Linked DNA regions of Homo sapiens: region 1 is linked to region 2. The links are contacts of gene promoters, found by promoter capture Hi-C in human tissues and cell types (Jung and others, 2019). All regions are on one chromosome and are shown on one strand. The core of a region is centred on a gene start or on the middle of the fragment in contact, and the rest is flanking DNA. Distances in the headings are between cores, read along the strand shown.

What was found. The method cuts DNA at HindIII sites, captures the fragments that hold promoters and counts their contacts. A contact is called where the count stands out against the background at its distance.
Region 1: a fragment that was not itself captured here is called in contact with the fragment with the promoter of RRP9 in region 2 in 1 of the 25 tissues and cell types used here (dorsolateral prefrontal cortex).

The regions. Positions count from the first base shown.
Region 1 is chr3:51,694,769-51,701,692 of GRCh38, forward strand. TEX264 (testis expressed 264, ER-phagy receptor) reads left to right here. Exons shown (of 5, transcript NM_015926.6): 4 at 4,638-4,806. Among named protein-coding and RNA genes, the nearest start is that of GRM2, 8.8 kb to the right of the region's middle. The HindIII fragment of the contact is 8,284 bases long and covers 482-6,924 here.
Region 2 is chr3:51,937,663-51,943,713 of GRCh38, forward strand. It overlaps RRP9 (ribosomal RNA processing 9, U3 small nucleolar RNA binding protein), which reads right to left and starts at 4,242. Exons shown (of 15, transcript NM_004704.5): 1 at 4,119-4,242; 2 at 3,747-3,829; 3 at 433-542; 4 at 7-74. The coding sequence starts at 4,205. It overlaps PARP3 (poly(ADP-ribose) polymerase family member 3), which reads left to right and starts at 4,701. Exons shown (of 11, transcript NM_001003931.4): 1 at 4,701-5,046; 2 at 5,692-5,876. The coding sequence starts at 5,694. RefSeq lists enhancers at 3,604-4,252, 4,377-4,706. The HindIII fragment of the contact is 37,282 bases long and covers 1-6,051 here.

The DNA.
Region 1 (6,924 bases), core at 3,374-5,873, 240 kb before region 2:
TGGTGTGAGGGGAGAGTAGAGAGAGGGGAAGGTGCTCACCAGCCCTTCTGCAGGCTCTCCCTGCTGCTGTGGCAAGGCCCCAGAGCACCAACAGACAGGTCTGGCTTCTGGGCCAGAAGCTTTGGGGCAGCCTGGTGGGGGTGAGAGGAAAGTTTCCGGGCAGAATAATAACGTGCTACCTTCTAGCTGCAGCCTCTTGCTATACCTCCCCAAAGCATGCACGTGCCATGAAGACCAGCTGCCTGAGGGGCCTCCAGGGTTTGAGTCCCCACTTGCAGGGACTGCTGTGTGCAGGCAGGTGCATGTTGGTGTCTGTAATTAAAAATGAGCATGCATCACTTCACCCAGTGAGGAGACGCCACTACCTCGGGTGGGATGCAACAGCTGCTTGCTGGCTGTGCAGCTGCCTGGGTATCCAGCCTGGCACAGAAGGATAGATAGGACTGGGTAGCTCAGGGTGAACAGTAAGGCAAGGCCCAGGGCCCCTCAGCCAGACCTCATCCCTTGCTGGGCCTAGAGCTTATGTAGGAGATGTGACCCGTCCTTGGCCCACACATTGCCTCCTTCTTTTGGGCATTTGCAGCCACCTAGTTCTAAGCAAACCTCCAGCCTCTGGGTAGCCTGGGAGTGGGACCCATCATCAGCCTTCGTCCTGGGCCTGACCTCTTCTGTCTTCTATTTGCTCCCAATCCCTAGCTGAAGCCAGGGCACAGGGTGATGTCCTGAATACAAAGCACTAAATGAGGATAGTTCAGGTCCAGGTCCTCTCTCTTACCTCTTTTCTTCCTCTCCCATAATTCAGAAAGACCTGCTGGGGAGGCACTGTGGGTCCCGTGGGGGAAAGCTTGGCCTGGTGTATCAGTCTTGCCCTGTTGTGGGAGCCCTGAGCTGAATGGGGTAAATGCCTGCACCCTGCCCAGGAGATGAACTCAGGCTGAAGTGAGGTGGGAGTGTGTGGTGTGTCCCCAAGGTAGCTGACGCAGTGGCACTGTGGCAGCCTGTGTGAGGTGGGTGAGCTGCTCCTTCCCTTTTTTGCCAACACTCCTGAGTGAGTAAGCAGGTGTTGGTGCAGGGTGGGGTGGTGGTGGGGAAGTGCTGGTGTCTGGGGTCTCTTAGAAATTCCTGCATCATGGGTGGTGTCCCAAGTCCCCATCTTGTTTCTGCATGTGGAAGACCCAGGTGGGAGGGAAGGCCCGGAGGTGTGTCTGAGGGACTGGAACTCTGAATCCAGTTTCTGGCAGACCCTGGGGGCACCTTGGCATGGTTCACTGACTTTTGCCTGTTAGGTGGAGAGGAATGTGAACATCTGCAACTCTCCCACCTTGGAAAGAGGCTTTATAGTCTCCTTGGGTCTGTGTGTGGGAGTGAGCTGCTCTGGGCTGTGGGTTTGTTAGATGGCCAGTGGTGTCAGTGGCAGAGCACGTTCTCATGTCCTGGCAATGCTTCCACACACTGCTGGCTGTCTGGGCTGTGGAAGGGGATGTGCCAGGGCTAGGAGGACCCCAGGCCCACCCAGGCTCTTCACCAGTGGGACCAGCCCAGTGTGACCTTGAGCTAGTGTCCTTGGCCACTGGCAGTCTGCTCTCCAAGGGCTCCCTGGGGCTAACTGAGGGAGAGGCAGCTGGCCTCGCCTTCCTCCAATGATTTTCCAATATTTACTGGCTCATTGACATATTGCCCGGGCCATGGCTCCTACTGTGCAGCAAGGACCTGAGAGCCAGCCCATGGTCACCCTGTCTTCCCTCCGAGGTTGCACCTGGCTGGGAGGGAAAGGGCTTGTCCTCTCTGCCTGATCACTCAGGGACAGAGCATATAGCTTGTCCTGCCCCTCACCTTCCATCCCCAGCCCCCACTAGAGTCATTCTTGCTCAGTGGGCAGAGCATGCAAGGGAGAGCAGTCTCCCAGGAAGGGCCAGGGGGCAACTACAAGCCCCTTCTCTGCCTGTGGGCCTGGCTTAGAAGTTTGCTCCTTTGCCTTCTTCCTGTCCCTTCTCTGCCCAAGTCTGAATTTTGGTAGGACCTGGTGCATGTGCTATAATGATTTGGGGCTGAACAGTCAATGGCATTTTAATTAGCTCCATGCCTCCCTCCAGTAGGGAGGACCAGGGCCCCCAGGTAACAGCAGGTAGGACCAGGCTAGTTTTGGGCCTGAGGCTGCCCCTCCAGGGGTCTGGGAGCAGGCTCTGGGACCTGGTGCTCCCTGTGTGAGATGCTGTGAGGAGGGAGAGCTGGGCAGAGAAGGAAGGGCTGTGTCGCAGGGCCACAGTTTTCTCTCCATCCTCTGTCTCCCTTGATCCTCTGTTCTCCCTGATGGCTTTGAGATGAAGGCGACGGCAAGGATGGAGGATGCAGTTTCCATGGCAACGGGGCTGTCCACAGCCAGGCAACTTCAGAGCCGGGCTCTCCGGAGGAAGCAGATGCGCAGAACAGCCGCAGAGCTGCCTCCCGCCTGCCAACGAGGGGGCTGGCAGAACAGGTGGCACAGGGTGGCAGCCTGGTGCTGCCCAGCCTAGGGGAGAGGGTGGAAAGAGCAGTACTCCCTCTTATTATCTTGTTATGGCCAAGTTCCTCCAGAAGGGAAGCTAGGGAGGTGGCTTGAGTGTTGAGAGGGGTTGGGCTAGGGTCCCCATTGTCCCTGGAATCTCTGGGTGGACACAGGCTCTGTCCTCTGGGATCTTCCCCCAAAAGCCAAATGTCTGCTGCTCTTGTGATGGCCACTCAGCTACTACCCTTTGGGTCCTTTGTCCAGAGTGTGAGGATGTTGGTGAAGGCCATGCCCTGACTAGATTCAGGGATCCTTTTCTTTCATCTAGCTACTGGGGAAGGACCTGGACCTTCTTCAGGGGCCTCCCTGCCCCTGGCCTCAGTGACCTGGACCAGTTTGCTGAGTTGGGTTCAGGTTTGGCAGATGCCTGCCTCTAAGTGCTGGCATTGGAGGGGCCCCAGAGCCTGACAGCTCCTGCTTCCTGACACTGTGATCTTGTTTAGCCTCCTCCTGGAGACCAAGGCTGGAGTGGGTATGTGAGTGGGTAGAGAAGCAAAGACAGCCATCTGTGTGTTTAGAAATGGGACGTGTCAGGGGCATGGACTCTTGAGATGGAGGAAGCCCCGAGGGCACCCAGGTTGGCAAAGAAGATTTGACTCCAACTATTAAAAAATAATGACTTTCCTTCACCGACCTTGGAAGCATCAGGGCTAGGGTGTTCTACTTTGCTGTTGAGCACATGGAGACTTAGGATGGAAGGCTTTGCCTGGATCACCCATGGAGTCAGAGGCTGAGCCACAGCCAGACCTGGGACAGGCCATCCACCTCCCGCGTGGCCTCCTAGATGCACCCTCCCTTCAGCTGGCTGCTGAGGGTCCTAGCTAGGTAAACCTTTCAGGCTCACTCCTCTTTCCCTTTATCATCCGTGGGCTTGCTTTTAACCCTTCTTTGCTAGCTTGCTTTAGTTGAAGGAGGTTCCTCAACCCTAGGGTTGGCCAGGCAGGTGGACAAGTGGAGTCTTGGAGTGGCTTCTCCTTGCCAGGCAATAAGTCTCTCATTACTGCTAAGTGGAAGGCTCATTTCAGAGCTCATGGTGAGAGCGGGGCGAATGCTATAAATAGTCGTGTTGTGAAGATTGGCGGGTGAGCAGTGACAGGGCAGGGGCCTTGCAGTCATCATAGTGGGTATTTGTGCTCCTTCGCAGGAAAGGTGGCGGGGCAGGCTCTGAGTAAGAGGCAACTTGACCCCTGTTCTGGCTGTCCCTGCCTGCCTCAGGGTGGCTCTGGCATGTCTGTGCCCCTCCATACTCATTGGGGGATGGGGAGCACTGGATTCTGTGTCTAGGCAGAGGGAGGTGGAGTGCCTTTTGGAACTTGGGGCCCAAAAGGTGGTACATCAGCCCACTGGGTAATGTCCTGTGCTAGATCTACTTGTCCTACCTGACCTTCCAGTCCAGGGTCTCCCTCTTCCCCATCAGCTAAAACCTGAGTTTACATGTGAGGAGGTATGGGAACCATACCTGATAGTCTCAGAGGTTGACATAGCTCTAAACTAGCAGGGGAATGAATGGGAGTGGAAGTGGTGTTTAGCTGGCCTTGATCCTTGTTCAGGGTCTATAGTAGCATGTCTGCAAGAGCAGGGGCTGGAGGCCTAAGGACTGGGGGTGCTGGTCTTCTGATATCTGTGGGTCAGTCAGCGTTGTCCAGGGTGGAGAGGAGGTCAGGGCCAGGGGGTCCTGGGATGGAAAGTCTGGTAGGTGAGACCTTGGCTTAGGCACATGGGGTCCCTATCCTGGGGTGGTCCAGGGGTGCCAAGCTTCATGGCTCTGTGAGACCAGTGCCTTCTGGAACAGCTTTTTGGTCTCAGATGTACACATAGGAGAGCAGTGCCAGGCTCCTGGGTTCTTTTACCACCTGCCCTAGGGTGTCGTCCTGGGTCTTCAGACTATTATTGCACTCTGGACTATGGGGCCCTGCTGTTAGGGTGATCTATGTGTGCCTCCCTCAGCAGGGCTTTGGAACTTGGAAGAGGTTGAGAGGCAGAGCCAGCCCCTGGGACAGAATAGGTAATAGACAGTTCTGGGGGTCACCCAGGGACAAGTGAGTCAGGGGCCCTGTAGGGCTCATTCTACCTTTTGCCACTCTCTGACTAGGAGCGGAAGCTGTGTGCCTATCCTCGGCTGGAGATCTACCAGGAAGACCAGATCCATTTCATGTGCCCACTGGCACGGCAGGGAGACTTCTATGTGCCTGAGATGAAGGAGACAGAGTGGAAATGGCGGGGGCTTGTGGAGGCCATTGACACCCAGGTGGATGGCACAGGTACAGAAGGTGGGGTATGAGGATGGGGCCCTCCTGGAGCTCCTCTCTTCTGGACTCCAGGGGCTTGGTTGAGGAGGCTCCTCCCTCTCTGGGTTGGCACTGTGGGTGTCAGGCTATGCTTGGCAGAGGGAGGAAGGAGACCCACCTACCTGAGGACCCACATGTGGAGTTGCCTGTTCCCAGACACATGGATCTACATAGATGTGGATTCACACACATTACCTCCTGGCAACACAGATACAAAGACCCTGCCTGGATTCCCTCCAGATGCAGCAGGAGTACCCTTGGAAACAAAGATCACAGACAGCTCGATGTTCATGGGAGGGGGCTGAGGCTGCTCAGGAAAGGAGTCCCTTGGGTGGGGCTCAGCAGGAAGTAAGATTGGCATAGATCTGGAAGGTAAGGAGGGGAGCAAAGTGTTCTCTTGTCCCTCAGTACGGGCCCCACCCAGAGCCAGCTGCTTTCTCCCTGCCAGGGAACAACCAGGGAGCATGCAGAGGGGAGCCAGGAGATCAGTCACCTGTGCCTTTCTCCAGGGCCAGCCCACACTCCTGCTGGCAGCCTCAAGGCCCCAGGTCCAGGCTGGAAGGCTGCTTGCCTGCCCACCCCTCTGCAATGATCTGTGACCCCGGGCTGTCTCAGGCACAAGGGGGTCTGCTGGGTTACATCCCAGATGGTCCCAGGGGGCCTTATCCTTGGCCAACCTGGTGGAGTTTGTGACTTCTAGGAGTGGTACAGGGCTGTGGGGAGAGGAACTGTCCCTCCTCTCCTCCTTCTTTAGCAGATGCTCTGCCCATCCAGTCTTCAACAGCCAAGGTCACCCTAGGGAGACGTGTCAGCTAGGGCTGGGTAGGAGGGTATTGGGAGCAGTCTCTACTCCCTAGGGGCCTGTGTCCAACACAGTTAACTTCATCTGCCACTTAATTACCTCCATGGGGTACAGCTCCCTTCTGCCTGGTAGTGCCCGGCAGACACTCTTCAGTGCCCCTACTGTGGGCACAGGACATGGCACAAGGTCAGCAGGCCCAGGCAGCCTCCAGGGCAGGAAGACAGAGTGCCTTCACTTTACTGTGACCTCCCTCTGCTGCCTGCCTCCCCCTCCTTGACCCACCCACCCAGCTTCCTTCCCTCCCAAACACTGCCTGTCAGGGTCATTGAAGGACTGCTTGGCACCCACTACAGCTGGCTGTAGTGGCAGCTCCCACATTCCCCAGCTCCTCAGCCTGTTTTCCTCCCCTCCAGCCCGCCCACCCACTCCCTGGTGTTGGGGCCAAGGGGTCTGCCCACCTCTCACAGGGCCTGTCCTGACACCCCAGCGGGACTCGGTGTTTGCCCACCAGGTGCATGCCACTGACACAGCAGTTGGTGGTGGGTGCATGCAGGATGTCTGACTGCCCAAGGCTTGGCCTGTCCCTGCCCGCCTCCCTGCTGTGGCCCTAGCTTAGGCCGGGAGGTGAAAGGGGGTGATTAGCTGCCTTGTGCCTGTTATTACATTGATGTATTATTTAGCTTCAGAGAGGCGATGAATATTTGATCGTCTTGCACTGGCTGTGGGCAGAGCGAGAGGGAGGGATTTGGGTGAAGGGGGTGGGCTTCAAGTCCCCTGCCCCAGTAGTCGTGGGGATTTAGGTAGGGCCCTGCCTTGCCTGGTATCTTCTGCCCAGGGATGCAGGCATGGGACTCTGGGACCTCCTCCTGTGTAGATCTTGGTGGGGGTATAGGGATGCTACTTCCCCGTATTGCATTCCTTTTTTTTTTTTCTTCTGCGGCAAGGTCTGGCTCTATCGCCCAGGCTGGAGTGGTGCAGTGGCAAGATCTCGGCTCACTGTAACCTTTCCCTCCCAGGCTTAAGCTGTCCTCCCACCTCAGCCTCCTGAGTAGCTGTGACAAGAGGCGTGTACCACCATGCTTGGCTAGTTTTTGTATTTTTTATAGAGATGGTGTTTCGCCATATTGCCCAGGCTGGCCTTGAACTTGTTAGCTCAAGTGATCCTGCCTCAGCCTCCCAAAGTGTTGGGATTCTAGGGATGAGCCACCATGCCCAGCTGGATTCCTTTTTTTTGTTTGTTTGTTTTTAAAGACAGTTTTCCTTTTTTGCCCAGGCTGGAGTGAAATGGC
Region 2 (6,051 bases), core at 2,992-5,491:
ACTTACCACATCCTCCTTCAGGCGCCCCGCCACCTGGTCCTCCTCAAATGCACGGGCCTCAGCCTTCTCCTCCTCTGTGCAGGACAGACCAGACCAAGTAAACTGAGGCTGAGACCCCTCTTTCCCTTCCATCCTGTCCCCATCCCACTGCCCCAGGGCTGGATAATGCAGGAAGCTCCAGCTGCCTCAGCAGAGGGGAGGGCAAGCTGGAGGGTTTCCTCCTGCCTTTACTTATCAGATCAGCCCCCTGCGGGCTCCCCAGGAGGCCCATGAGAGCTTCTGGCCACCCCCACAGGGCAGCCAGCACTGACAGCCTGGGCACCCACTGGGAATCCATGTCAGTCACCCATCAAGTGGCTGGGGCTGCAGCGGCGGGCAGCAGACCAGCACAGGCAGAAGCCCTGCCCATGGCTGGCCTGCCCACTGGCTCACCTTGCTGACGGAGCTGCTCTAGGTAGAGCTTGGCCAAGCGCAGCTTCTTTTCCTGTGCAGTTTCCTCCAGCTCCTCCTCCTCCTCCTCCTCAGGCTTCCTTGGAGCTAGGCTGTGGGCAGGAAGGGGCTGGGTCTGAGGGGCTCACCTTGTTCCTCTGACCGCTAGGATCGTGCCTTCTGGATGCTCACCTTGCCATCCAACCTCCCCTATTCCCTGCTAGCCCACATGGTCGGTGACTACACTGCAGAAAACTGAAGGATGTGACTCCCCAAACTAAAAGGCCCCACTCAGTGCCCCACGTAGGGGTGGAAACAGACCCAAATCCCAAAGAGATCACTAAAGCCTCTCAACTCTGGGGGAAAGAGGAGGCTTCCAAGAGAAACCAGGCTTCCAAAAGAAATCAGGTCACATACAAAGAGTCAGGAATCAAAATGTGCAGGCATCTCAACAGCAATACTGAGAACAAGAAGACAAAGAAGCCTCACACACAAAGCTCTGGAGGAATACACTGACCCCTAAAATGCCATGCCCAGTCAAACAATCAACGACGACACTGCCAGGTGTGCAAGGTGCCATGGAATTTTCTCCCTCTTTTTCTTTAGGAAGGATAGAAGCTGTGCTCCCAAACAAGAGGGTAAACTGGGAAAGAGAAAGGCAAGGGATACCGGAAACCAGAGATGCGACACAAGAGAGCAGAAAGGGTGACACTATCCCCAGACATGACGGGGGCAGTCTGGATCAGATCCAAGGACCCACCAGGCAGACACACCAGGACTGTCATCACCACAGCACCATCCTTTACCCTGGGAACAAGGTTCCAAGCGAACCTTCACTGTTTGGGGATTGGCCTTTACTGGTGAAGTTACGGCTTTCCCCTCCATGCCCCAGCCCCCGGACCAGCTGAGAGTACTCACTTCACCCAAAGACAGGTGCTGCTTTGACCTGCTCCTGGGAGCTGGGGGTAGGTCATGGGCACTCAGACACAGAGAATCCAAGGCAGCCCACTCCCTCTGATCATGTGCCTGAAGACATCTAGTCTCTGTCCACTCCCCTAACCGTGTTTCCCAAGACTCACTCGTAAACCTGCCCCTGACTTCCCCAGAAGGGACCTTGAAAACTCTCAGGAAAGCCAAAGCTGGACCATGCCCCAGAAATAATTTAGTGCCCTGTGCCTGGCAAGCCTTCAGCCAACAGGGCTAGTGCTGCCCTTCCCTTACACAGCCAAGGGACCTGTGTTAACTTCGGACTTCTACTCAATTTAGCCAAACTAATTAATCTATTGTTGAAGGATTCATACGCATGAGACAGAACGCTAAAGAAATGCAAGGGAAGTACACACTATGATTCCATTTACAGGGCATGCTAGAAAATGCACAACTCTAGGGGCAGTGGTTAGCAGAGACTTGGGGGGAAGGAGAGGGGCTGACTACGAAGGAGCAGGAGGAGTTCTGGAGGGTGATGAAACTCTTTACCTTCAGGGTAGAGGTGGTCACACAACTGTGTGTGTTTGTCAAAACTCACTGAACTATAACTTTAAAAAGGGCATGTTACTATATGTAAATTATACCTAAATGGAAAATGTTAATTTTTTAAAAGAAGAACAAAGAAACCAAAGAAATGATTAACTCAAGTTAGGAATGACAGTTGCGGCTTCTAAGTTTCTGCAAATGTTCTAGTTCTTAACCTAAGTGGTAAGTAAGTGTACAGAGGTTTACCATTTTACCATTACTCTCTGTAGTGCAAATATATCTCATTCACTTTTCTGTATCTAACACACTTCACAACACAACATTCTAAAAATATTTAAAAGCACTTAGCCCACACTAGCCTGGCACACACTCACCCACAATAACCTTCGGATTAAGAAAAGTACATTAATGGCTGGGTGTGGTGGCTCACGCCTATAATCCCAGCACTCTGGGAGGCTAAGATGGGCGGATCACTTGAGGTCAGGAGTTCGAGACCAGCCTGGCCAACATGGTGAAACTCCATCTCTACTAAACATACATAATTAGCCAGGCATGGTGGTGCAGGCCTATAATCCCAGCTACTCAGGTGGCTGAGGCAGGAGAATCACTTGAACCTGGGAAGCAGAGGTTGCAGTGAGCCGAGATCGCACCACTGCACTCCAGCCTGGGCAACAGAGTGAGACTCTGTCTCAAAAACAAAAAAAAAAAGTACATTCTTTCCATGAGCAAATTAAGGCAACACATACTCAATTTTAGAAGCGAGTTCTAAAGTCAACTCATAGGGAAGGCACTAGGATTCTCTGGTCCAAGAGCCTCCAACCCACAGGGTCAGGCCTGACACCATGCCTGACCCTTTGAAAACCTGCAAGCAACCACACCCATCACCTGCAGAAATGAGGGAGGCATCCAAAGCCCTCTACAATCTACATGCACTTATGACCAGTCCTCCTGTTTTTGTGTGTGGTTTTTTTTTAGAGACAGGATCTTGCTGTCACCCAGACTGGAGAGCAGTGCATGATCATAGTTCACTGCAGCTTCAACTCCCTGGGAAGGGATCCCCAAACCTTAGCCTCCTGAGTAGTTGGGACTACAGGTGCACACCACCATACCCAGCTAACTTTTTTTTTTTGTACAGACAAGATCTCGCTATGTTGCCCAGGCTGGTCTCAAACTCCTGACATCAAGCAATCCTCCCGCCTTGGCCTCCCAAAGTGCTGGGATTAGAGGCATGAGTTACCAGGCCCAGCCCCCTTTCATCTTTTCTACTGCCCATTCTGGCACACTTACACCTCAGACTTTCCTCTGATCACTGAATGCCTTCCCTACCTCTCCGTGAGAGACTCCTCTTCATCTCTCAAGACCCTATTTAAATGTCCCTCCTCTGTTCCCAGAACACACAACTATAAAATACACACCTCACTACAACACACTCTCTTCACCCGCCTGCCTATCTCTGCACTTCCAACAGCAAAGGCAGTGCCTGGCATGTTAAGAGACGGGGAGCCCAGTAATTGTGAAATTGCAGGAAAACTGGCAAGGGAAGAAGGATGCAAGAAATACTTGACAGCTTTGTTCTGTTTTCCTGCAATTTCTCAATCAGTCCAGTCCCTGCCAAAACCTAAGGAGGTCTCAATGGCCTCGGATTGGGGCCCAGGGTCCTTCCCACCCAGAGACCTCGCAGAAACAAGACTTTGCAGGACCAGAAACTAAAGGAAACAGCCACGATCTCAGAGCCAAGGGACAGAGTCTTGGATTCTAGGCTCAGTTCTGTTCGGACTCACTCAGTCTTCCGTGCACCATGGGACTCAGTTTTCCCTCCCACTATGTGGAAAAGAATAGCTCACCTCTCGCTCTCAGAGTCGCTGGAGATCTCCTCATTCATCTTGCCGCCACCCTTGGATTTGCCCCTGTCCCCCGCAGAGTCGGCCTGGGAATTATACGGTCTTTTCTTTGGTCAGGGGTCCAGACCACCCTGGCATTGACCAAGGGCCCCCCCCCCTCGGTTCCCTCAGAACCCCAGGAATGGGGAAGGCGGTGGTTCCCGGGTTAAGCGAACGGCTTTCTAGGATTTGGCCCGCGGAGAGAGGGACGAAGCTGACTCCAGCAGGGGTCCAGGGCGAAGGGCTGGGGAAGGGCCGGGACCCAGGTCCCCTGGATGGGATGACGGTTGTCCCAGTAGCAGGGCTGACCGCGGCCCTCAGAAGCGCCATGCTCACCTTTCGCCGCCGCTTGCCGGCCCCCGCGCCAGCCCCGGCCCCAGAGGCCGGCTTTCCCCGCTTACGAGCAGCCGCTGTTGCCGACATGCTGCCCACCAGGCGTGTAGCAGCGGCCGCAGAACTCACGTGGCAGCTGAACCCTCCCAGCTCCCCAGCCGCCTGGCAAGACCCCGCGTATTGATAGGCTTCCACCGCCCGCCGGGCCCCGCCTCCTACTGCTCCATTGGGTCCTTCTGCAGGCTCTGCCACGCCCCCAGGCACCCATAGGATGCACGCTTGTAGCCCCGCCTCCTGAAGTTCCTAGGCTCCCGCACCAGGCTCGAGTAGGAAGCCCGCATCTCCACGGCGCTTCCGGCCTGATGCTGTGGCGCTTGCGCTCTGCTGCTGGCCCACTTCGAAGTCGGAGCAAGAGCCTTCTCTGTGTTTGCGCCCCTTGGCCGCTGGGGGGCGCCAGAGACGCGGCGCCCTTTCGCGTTCTGGAACGTGACTCCTCCCCTCCATGGGCAGCCCGGCGCTAGACCCAACGGGGATCCAAGCAGCCCCGGGGAGAGGGAGGCTGCGTCTGTATCCGGGCCCAAGGTCACCGCGCGACCGGCAGATGCGTGCTGCAGGCCCCGGCCACATGAGCAGCGCTACGGACGCGACTGCCCCGGCCTTGGATATGCCAGATCGAGTGTCCACCCGTCCGTGGGACTGGTCGCCTGACTCGGCCTGCCCCAGCCTCTGCTTCACCCCACTGGTGGCCAAATAGCCGATGTCTAATCCCCCACACAAGCTCATCCCCGGCCTCTGGCGATTGTTGGGAATTCTCTCCCTAATTCACGCCTGAGGCTCATGGAGAGTTGCTAGACCTGGGACTGCCCTGGGAGGCGCACACAACCAGGCCGGGTGGCAGCCAGGACCTCTCCCATGTCCCTGCTTTTCTTGGGTGAGTGTCCTATGGTCCTGCCCACGGCAGGGCAGGGCAAGGCCTGGTGGGACTGGCCTTTGCCCTCTATCAGTTCAAGGCCACTGATCCGGAGTTCTGGCTCCTCAGAACTCTTGAGTCCATTGGGAAGGGCTTCTACAGCTCTGGGTTCTAAGCTCCGGGAGGATAATCTGGCCCCAAGAATCCTGCCCCCAGGATCCTCTGCCCACCCTCCCCCATAGCTCGGTGACTCGGCCCGGCAACCATGCCAGGGCTGAACTAGCTGACACAGGGGGAGGAGCCCCGAAGTGGAAGAGAGAGAGCCTCCTTTCACTTTCCCTACCCCTCAGGACACACAGGTGAGCTGCAGAGGGTAGGGAGCCAGGCAGACCCTGTTGACCAGAGTGGGCAGACTGGACAGAGTCCTAACCTTGCACTTGGGACTGGGGAAAGGGGTGTTTCTGAGTGACAAAGAGCTGGGTGTGGTCTGGGGCTGGGAATGCCGTCAGAGTGGACACAGGATGCAGTGGGAGGCCACCGAAGGGCCAACCCGGGGTGGGGCAAGTTGGTGCTGTGCTGGCCCAGGGCAGGGGTGGGGACTGAGAGTGGGTCGTTGGGGATGAGGAGACCATGGAGGCCTAAGGGCCTCTCTGTGCCCCAGGACAGCCATGGCTCCAAAGCCGAAGCCCTGGGTACAGACTGAGGGCCCTGAGAAGAAGAAGGGCCGGCAGGCAGGAAGGGAGGAGGACCCCTTCCGCTCCACCGCTGAGGCCCTCAAGGCCATACCCGCAGAGAAGCGCATAATCCGCGTGGATCCAACATGTCCACTCAGCAGCAACCCCGGGACCCAGGTGAGCTGCAGTCCCCAGTCAGGCCCAGAGCCTGCCCACTGATAAGCACAAACACACCCAGGCCACCCCCTTAGGACTCTGTTCTGGTTTTGGAGCCCAAGGCCCCCAGGTAAGCGCCAGAGCAAGGCCATGTTCTCCTGACCCCAGACATCAGGGCTGTGTCCCGTCAGGTCCA